Regions from separate parts of the Homo sapiens genome. Here all the other regions are linked to region 1. The links are contacts of gene promoters, found by promoter capture Hi-C in blood cells and fetal thymus (Javierre and others, 2016). All regions are on one chromosome and are shown on one strand. Each heading gives the region's core, a stretch centred on a gene start or on the middle of the fragment in contact. The rest is flanking DNA. Distances are from core to core; before and after follow the strand shown. Region 1 holds the start of RWDD3 (RWD domain containing 3). Region 2 overlaps CLCA4-AS1 (CLCA4 antisense RNA 1). Region 3 overlaps RNPC3-DT (RNPC3 divergent transcript).

The links. Contacts are between HindIII fragments. The CHiCAGO score rates a contact against its expected background, and 5 or more counts as called.
Region 2: a contact is called between a fragment that was not itself captured here and the fragment with the promoter of RWDD3 in region 1, in 2 of 17 cell types (total CD4 T cells and activated CD4 T cells). The highest score is 7.1, in total CD4 T cells.
Region 3: a contact is called between a fragment that was not itself captured here and the fragment with the promoter of RWDD3 in region 1, in 2 of 17 cell types (total CD4 T cells and non-activated CD4 T cells). The highest score is 7.5, in total CD4 T cells.

Annotation. Positions count from the first base shown.
Region 1 is chr1:95,232,647-95,235,645 of GRCh38, reverse strand. RWDD3 (RWD domain containing 3) reads right to left here and starts at 1,436. Exons shown (of 4, transcript NM_015485.5): 1 at 1,331-1,436. The coding sequence starts at 1,415. The region is part of intron 7 of TLCD4-RWDD3 (TLCD4-RWDD3 readthrough); the gene reads right to left. RWDD3-DT (RWDD3 divergent transcript) reads left to right here and starts at 1,664. Exons shown (of 4, transcript NR_125949.1): 1 at 1,664-1,946. RefSeq lists silencers at 976-1,155, 1,366-1,695. The HindIII fragment of the contact is 4,366 bases long and covers 1-2,441 here.
Region 2 is chr1:86,700,805-86,703,803 of GRCh38, reverse strand. CLCA4-AS1 (CLCA4 antisense RNA 1) reads left to right here. Exons shown (of 5, transcript NR_135837.1): 1 at 1-197. Among named protein-coding and RNA genes, the nearest start is that of CLCA4-AS1, 2.2 kb to the left of the region's middle. RefSeq lists an enhancer at 1-24. The HindIII fragment of the contact is 2,416 bases long and covers 43-2,458 here.
Region 3 is chr1:103,518,083-103,521,081 of GRCh38, reverse strand. All of the region lies in intron 1 of RNPC3-DT (RNPC3 divergent transcript), which reads left to right. Among named protein-coding and RNA genes, the nearest start is that of RNPC3-DT, 5.9 kb to the left of the region's middle. The HindIII fragment of the contact is 5,087 bases long and covers 1-2,999 here.

The DNA of each region.
Region 1 (2,999 bases), core at 187-2,686:
TGGCTCACGCCTGTAATCCCAGCACCTTGGGAGGCCGAGACGCGCGGATCACGAGGTCAGGAGATTGAGACCAGCCTGGCCAACATGGTGAAACCCCGTCTCTACTAAAAATACAAAAAATTAGCCAGTCATGGTGGCAGGCGCCTGTAGTGCCAGCTACTCGGGAGGCTGAGGCAGGAGAATGGTGTGAACCCAGGAGGTGGAGCTTGCAGTGAGCCGAGATCGCGCCACTGCACTCCAGCCTGGGGGACAGAACAAGACTCTGTCTCAAAAAAAAAAAAAAAAAAAAAAAAAGGCCGGGCGCAGTGGCTCACGCCTGTAATCCCAGCACTTTCGGAGGCCGAGGCGGGCGGACCACGAGGTCCGGAGATCGAGACCATCCTGGCTAACACGGTGAAACCCTGTCTCTACTAAAAAAAAAAATACAAAAAATTAGCCGGGCGTGGTGGTGGGCGCCTGTAGTCCCAGCTACTCGGGAGGCTGAGGCAGGAGAATGGCGTGAACCCGGGAGGCGGAGGTTGCAGTGACCCGAGATCGCGCCACTGCACTCCAGCCTAGGCGACAAAGCAAGACTCCGTCTTAAAAAATAAAAAATAAATAAAATAAAATAAATAAAATTCAGCCAGGCATGGTGGCACGCGCCTGTGATCCCAGCTACTCGGGAGGCGGAGGCTGCAGTGAGTCCAGATGGATCCACTGCACTCCAGCCAGGGCAACAAGAGAGACTCCACCTAAAAAAAAAAAAGTATCAGAAAAGCAATCAACTTGGAAATAGAATGCAGATAAAGTTGAGGTTGAGCACTGGATAAATGAAAAAGTTCAGTCAACAAACATTTACCTACTACCTACCAGGTGCCTGGAGTCATTACCAAACAGACCCTGCCCTCCTGCAACTTAAGACCTACAAATACCCGTGTAGAGTTAGAACCGGGGAGTGCTCTCGGGGGGGCCTAGGGCATAGTGCTTAGGAAGGACACAGAACAACGAGGGGGCGTCAGCACAGGCTTCTTTATAGGGTGAGATCTGAGGGGTGGGAGGCTGGGGGAGGGCCTGGGGGTGCGCACGCAGGGGCCCCCGGCTCCGGGAGCGGGACCGGCGGCAGAGGCCCCAGTGGGCCGCGCCGCTCTCTTAGTGTTTCTGGGGTCGCCTCACACTCCCGCCCGCTGCGACACCACTCCGGCCTCCGGGCGTGTCATTCCATCATTCAACTAACCCGGTCCCCATACGTGGGCCCAGGCGGGGTGCCCAGGCTCCGTGGTGGGGAGGAGACGCAAAGCGAACGCGGGTGGCCCCTGAGGGCGCCCTGTCCCTCCCGCGCGCGGGTAGTCACCTGAGCGGCTCAGCACCTCCCACTCGTGGGGCCTGCAGAAAATCGCGGCCAGGACCGAGAGCTCCTCCTGCACAGGCTCCGCCATGGCTGTGGGCCCCACCGCCTCAGCGCTTCCCCTTCCGCTGCCGCAGCCGCCGCCTCCACCGGCCAGGAGCAGCACTGCCCGCGGCCACCCGGGGGCGCCCCGCGCCTCCGCAACCGGGCGGGACGGGGGCGGGGCGAGACGGAGCTGGGGCGAAGCGAAACGGGACGTGGGCGAGGCGAGTCCGGGCGAGGGTCAGGGCAGACGGGGCGGGCGGGGCCCTTAGAAGTTCCGCCCAGAAGCTCCTGCTCAGTAACTACAGACGCGAAGCTCAGCCTCTCGGTTTGGGAATTTTCTTGGAGGCCGAGGCCCTGCGCCTCTGTCTGCACCCAAGGCGACCGCCCAGCTTACCCCCGGCTCTTCTGAGCACAGGGAGGCCTCCCAGCAAAGCCTGAACCCTCTAAGTTTAGCTGCAGGCTTCGAACCCCGACCGTCCCCGCCGAGCCTTGGGCTGCTGAGGTGGGGATGAACTGGGCGAAAGACACTTGGGAGTTAGGAAGAAACAAACAAGCAGGGAAGTGACCAGGAGACAAGGTGAGACTTTGCCCGGCTCAGGTCTGAACTGAGTGTTGGAGATAACCACAGTTAACAAAATAAACAAAATTATTCGCCCCCGTGGAGCTGTTAGCAACCCTGGTGCCTGGGAAGCCTGGAAGAGGCTCGGGTTAGTAACAACCTCCAGGATGCCCTCCGAACTGGTACTGGCGCCGGGACTCTAGACAAGGTCCAGATTCCCGGGCCCTTCCCCTTACGGGTGCAAAAAGGGAGGGTCAGGACCTGCCAGTCCTGGCTTCAGGATGTTGACTGGACGGACCTGGACTCATGGGAACTGTGCGCCAAAGTCCTGGGAGCAAAGTGTCATAACGCTCCTCGTTTGTCTCTTGCCTTCACAGGAGACAGCCCTGCTGCAAGCGGCCAGTGGGAATCCTTGGCCTTTGGGGGTATGATCCAAGAATGTAAACGCTAGCTTTTCAGTGTTTTCGATTTCGTGATATTCAATGCATACAATACAATGTGACTCTTGAAGCTTAATAATAAAATTATCATTCTTGAGCCCAGCACCTAAATTTTAAAATGTGAGCAATACCAATAGGGTAACAGAATAAGCAATCCATTCTGTTTTGACTATAGTGAACAAGATTACAAGACTTATCTGCAGTTAGGTCTGTCTCTCGGATGTTTGCCTGGTCTTTTTGCTGTTCAAATAACAGTTTAAAATTTGGCAGTCCCCACAAGCAGCTGGTCTTGCTCATGGAGTTCTCACAACTTTTGTTTGTATGAGAAATCACATTTCATGAGATAAATCTGGGAATTTAGGTTGTTAGGCAGTGACTCCAGTCACTGACCTACGGAAGTCAGAACAAAGTTGGCTGATTTTAAAACCCTGCATCCATTCACCATTACCATTCCCGCTGTTGGTAAAAAAGGAATCTGATAAAGGAAAAGATACTGGCTTCCCGGAACAGAAAGGAAACCTAACAAGATGGACTGCAGGGAAAATGCTTTTCAGAAGATGCCATGGGATTTCAGTGACCCCGAGTAATTAGGAGCACATAATTGGGAAGATGAAGGCTTATTTAAATGCAG
Region 2 (2,999 bases), core at 1-2,500, 8.5 Mb after region 1:
GTGGTTGTGCAGCAGGCAATGAAATGAGCTTACATTCAAGCTTCCGTGTTTTACTGAAACAACAGTCACAGATGCAGTAGATGTTAAAGGTTGAAAGACGAGTGCAGTAAAAGCATTATGAGGACAAGAAGAAAACGTAAATATTTGTGTTGTTTCATTCTTTGTTGTGGTGGCAGAAACAGCCCCCTCTTTCTAAGGTAACTCCAATATAATGATCTCTCCCAGCTTTGAAATACTCCATGTCTGTTTCATTTTCCAGAAATATGGAAAAATGAATATATAATAAAAAACCCTATTTCTCATTTATTGTCTATTTTAGATCTTTATGTGGAAAAGCACTTACTCTCTTCCCAGAGCACTGTTTTTAAAGTAGGTATATTTGCCATAACCTATGCTCGTCTCTACAAAAGGATCACACCACCGTGTCCACCATTAAAGGGGAAATTCTTTAATGGTGGACACAGTGGTGTCCCTGAATCCTCATCCTCAAGTGTTTCAATCTTCCCAGTCTTGGGAAAACAACAATGTTACTTCTTTCTTTTGCACCCTCTGTAGCTGTAATCCTGTTTCCCCATTCTCCATAAAAGACTTACCTTATTTTCATATATCCTTATTCTTAGCCTTTGACACTTTTTTTTTTGAGACAGAGTTTTGCTGTGTCACCCAGGCTGGAGTGCAATGGTGTGATCTCAGCTCACTGCAACCTCTGCCTCCTGGGTTCAAGGATTCTCCTGCCTCAGCCTTCCAAGTAGCTGGGATTACAAGCATGCATCACCACGCCCGGCTAATTTTTTATATCTTTAGTAGAGACAGAGTTTCACCATGTGGGCCAGGCTGGTCTCGAACTCCTGGCCTCAAGTGATCCGCCTGCCACAGCCTCCCAAAGTGCTGGGATGACAGGTGTGAGCCACCGCACCCAGCTGATTCGCTTTCTTTACAGAGAAAATATAAATCATCACTCTGTTTGGCAGAAGCCTCTTCAACCAAATTTCCTTATTTCCACCTCCTGTTCTCTCCACACTCTTTCCTGCATCATTGCCAAATGTTTCAAAGGAATAGGTGTCTCAGGTGTTCTGAGTAGAGCCACTGCTCCCTTAATCTTGGCTGCACATCAGCATCACCTGGAGAGTTTAAGCAACCACTGATGCCTGGATCCAGTCCCAGAGTGTGGACTGGGCATTGGGATGTTTTAGGAGTTCCTCTAGGTGTTCTTAATGTGTGACCAAGGTTGAGAACTAATTTGTCACCCTCTAGAACTTGCTCCATCAGTCTCTACCCTTTGCCTACAGACTGATTCTACTTCTCTTACCAGATATCAGTCCCTTAAGGGCAGTGTCCGTTTCCTATTTATTTTTATATATTTTATGGTTTACACAGGCAACATAGTGAATTCCCAAATGATTTAGTAAGTGAAAAAAGTAATCAAATCAAGATGTTTACAGTGCTAAGCTCTTTTGTGACACCATCACCCCCAGCCTAAATTTCCAACTATTTATCCATAGATTCAATATTTCCAGTGGCAAGTCTGTTATAGTTTGCTTTTCCTGAAAATTCTTCTTTTCTTGGGTTTCCTACATTGATAAATTGAATCATACACACCAAATCACCTAAGCCAGAAATCTGAGTCCCCTTTGATTATTTCCTCTTATTTCCCACCACCAATTGGTCTATCCTGGCAATTTCTTCTCTGAAACTGTTTCCTATTTTTCATTTTCATCCTCTTTTTAAAAACAAATTTTTTAACTTGAAACAATTTACAAACTAAGAAAACTGTTGCAAGAATAGTACAAAAACTTCTGTGTACCCTTTGCCTAGAAACCCCACTCAAACTTTGCCAATTATTCCAATGTCTTTACAGCAAAAACGTCCCAGCCAAGAAAGATCATGTGCTGCATCCAGTTAGCTTGTTGCTCAATTCTCCTTCAGTCTGGATCAATTATTCAGGCTTTTCTTGACACTATTCCTTCCCCAGAGTTAGCCACTATTTTTAAATTGGTATGATTAATATCTGTTATGTTTTTGTACTTTCACTGAATTTATATGTATCTATGAATGGTACTACTATGTTATATTTTTAAACTGCATAAATGATATCATATAGATAAATCCTTTTGCATTTAGGGGTCTAATACTTCTATTTGTGTATTTGATGACCTTTTTGTTTGTGGATTGATTCCTTTTGCTTTGTACATTGATTCCTTTTAGCTTTTTTTTTTATGGCTCATTTTTAGTGATACAGAAAAAAATGTTTCTTCTGTCAGAGACCCCTAAGGTTATCACTGGCTAGTGAGCAATTTTTACATGAATTTCTTTCTTGGCTTAGAAGTTCTAAGATCATTCAGATATTATAAATTTGAACCCAGATTTGTGGGAGTACAAACTATGATTCAAATTCTCAAGGGAGAGAGATCTTCCTTGTTTTTTTCTCTTTCAGAGCTTGTGCCTTGACAGAAAAGCTTCTTACTATGCCAGAAGAAAAGCTTCTATCTAGTCTACCCTTTCATTGAGGGTACAGAATTTCATGGGTTTTTAACTTATGTGTGTGTGTGAGGTCATGAAGTTGGGGGACAGGGTGTGCTCACAGTTAACTGATTTCTGTTTGCACCAAGGGCCCAAGGTCTTATCACAAGTTACCGTGTATTTTTAAAAATTATAAAGGCCAGGCGCGGTGGCTCATGCCTATAATCCCAGCACTTTGGGAGGCTGAGGTGGGTGGATAACTTGAGGTCAGGAGTTCAAGACCAGCCTGGCCAACATGGTGAAACCCTGTCTCTACTAAAAATACAAAAATTAGCCGGGTGTGGTGGTGGGTGCTTGTAATCCCAGGTACTCGGGAGGCTGAGGCAGGAGAATCACTTAAACCGAGGAGGTTGCAGTGAGCTGAGATCACGCCATTGCATTCCAGCTTGGGCAACAAGAGCGAAACTCCATCTTAAAAAAAAAATTAATGAAAATTGACAAATGATAATTGTATATACTGTATTGTATACAACCTGATT
Region 3 (2,999 bases), core at 162-2,661, 8.3 Mb before region 1:
ACCAAATCATATCTTCAGCCTGAACCTCTTCTCTAAACTCCCAATCCATATATTGAACTGCTTACTTGACATTTTCTCAATGTTGTGTAATAAGCATCTCAAAACTAACAGGCCTAAAACTGAGCTCTTGATAGTATTCAAAACTTTTCTTTCAGTTTTTCCCATCTCAGTTACCTGTGACTCCTTTATATCTTTTATATCTCATGCCTTGACATTCAGCAAATTCCCTTTATCTTACCTTCAAATTATATTCAAAATTTGACTATTTTTCACTGTTCCCACTGTTTCTACCATCCTTGTCCAAGCAGCCATGATCTATCTGGAATATTGTCATAGCCTCATGGCTAGTCTCCTACTTTTGCCCTTTCTGTCTGGACGACACAGTAAGACTCAACAATTATTTCATATATTCCTTTCCATTTCCCAACTCTCTTGTTGTTAGTTGGGACTATGTGATTCATTTTGGTAGATGGGGTGTTAATGAAAGCAACATGTGTCAATTCCAGAGTATTGCATGGAAGATTGGGTATGAAAACAGTGATCATGTAGGCCACATATTGAGGTGATAGAACCTCAAGCTAAACATAGCCTAGAGTACCAACTCACCACATCAATGACAGCTCCCCTACAGAATAACTTCCCTCCCACCAAACTTTGCATAAGTAGTAAATAACTTTTTTCTCTTAAAGGTATTGATAGCTTAGGACTAGTTTTTACCATGAAAAGTCCATTTTAACATGATTAAAAATATATTGCTTCTTCAATATATTTTTATCACAGCAGCTAGAGTGATTCTGTTAAATCTTCAAAACTCTGCAGTAGCTTTCCCCCTCACTTAGAGTAAATGCTGAAGTTATTTTGATCTGTGAGAATTTACATGATCTAACTCCTCCAGTATATTATTTTTATGACTTCATCTATTCTTCCCCTCTTCTTTCCCTCTGCTATAAATACACTGACCTTCTGGCTGTGCTTGAACACTTCAGACCCATAACTAAGACCTTTGCCTTTACCATTCTCTCTTTCAGGGATGCTGTTCCTACAGATATCTGCATGCTTAGCTCCCTGACTTTCTTCAGATGCTTACATATGACTTTCTCATTAAATTCTTCATTGTCAGTCAACACCATCTCTGCCTCCTCTATTCTCTTCCCATACTGGCAAAGGAAACAAAAACAACAATAACAACAACAACAACAAAAAACCTGAACACTAGATTTTTCAGTGTTTTGGTTGTCACTGTGTAATAAGCCATCCAATTACTTAGTAACTTAAAACAAACATCATCAAAGTCTTTTCTTTTTTCCCAAGGTAGAATTCATGTCTTCATCCCATTTGTTATTGTAGAACTTTTCACCTCTGTTATAAAATTATCATAAATATATTTTATTATAAATAATTATGTACATAATTTCATTATTACTAATAAGCTCCTTGAAGACAGGAATTTCTATATTCGTCTGTATATCTTCCAAGCATTAACATAGTACCTTACAAATAGATTAATGATCATTGAATGTTAAAATATATATTAGTGAATATTTGACATATGTTTTAAAACATTTATCAGTGAATAAATTAATGTTATTATCAAGAAAATAAAAAACACTGCTGACAACCAGGGATTACATATTCAGTGGTTTGCATGATGACTTTAGGAAACCTGTCTAAAGATTTCTATGCAAAATGATCAGAAAGTTAAAATGTCAATATTATTTTTGTTATTTATTGATAGATTAGATTATGTGTGGATCTCACACATAGTTATTTGTAGACTTAGTCTCTGCCTTTAAATAACAAATGAACAGAGGCAGGATTTATGTGAACTTTTGGCTATTGCAGGGGTAATTAGCCTTTTCTTATGGGGTATAGCTTGCTTATGTCTTCTGTTCTGGGATGGAATCTAGAGAAGATAGGGAAATAGCACCCGAAAAATATTCCTGTTCTAAAATACTTTCTTAACTCCATTTACAATTTGGAATCCATTTGGATGGCACATTTTTTTTAATGTATGCAACCTGGAAGGCTATTTTTCTTAATATAAACCTATACATTTAAGTATTAGTTGATATGGTTTGTCTGTGTCCTCACCCAAATCTCATCTTGAATTGTAACTCCCACAATTCCCACATTTTGTGAGAGGAACCCGGTGGGAGGTAAAGGAATCATGGAGGCGAGTCTTTCCCATGCTGTTCTTGTGATAGTGAATAAGTCTCATGAGATCTGATGGTTTTTAAAAAAGTTTCCCTGCACTAGCACTCTCGCTTTGGCTACTGCTATTCATGTAAGATGTGACCTGCTCCTTGCTTTCCACTATGATTGTGGAGCCTCCCCAGCTATGTGGAACTGTAAGTCCATTAAACCTCTTTTTCTTCCCAGTATCAGGTATGTCTTTATCAGCAGCATGAAAACAGACTAATACATTAGTCAATCAAAAAATTAAAATGTACTAAACATTTCAGAAGATGCCTAGAGAAAATGTTTCACCTGATAAATGGTACTGTCATAAGTAGTTGTTTTTCTGTAATGTGACAATGCTAGATTATCTTCTCTTACGTAAAAACGTCAGAAAATACAGCTGGTACCAAAAAATTGGAAAAAGAAAGACAAATTAATAGAAAAATGTGTTTAAAGAATATAAACAGGTGATTTTACAAAAAGGAAACCTGAATGGCCCATTAACATATGGAAAGGTGTTTAACCTTACTATTGGTAATGGGAATGCCAATTAGACCCCACAAGAATATACCAATTCTCAGTTCTCAAACTGGAAAACATTATACATAGCTATAAAATTTAATGTAGGTGTGTGCATGAGGGCAAATGTTTGTCACAGGCATTTAGAAAAGTAAATCTTCATATTTATTTGGATAAATGTTACCATACTTTTTGATCCAGTAATTCTGCTTTTCAAATCTATCTTATAGAAATAAAAGCATCTACATACAGATGCTGAAAGGTTGAATTAGCTGGACCTAATGGGGCTACCAAAAGAAAAT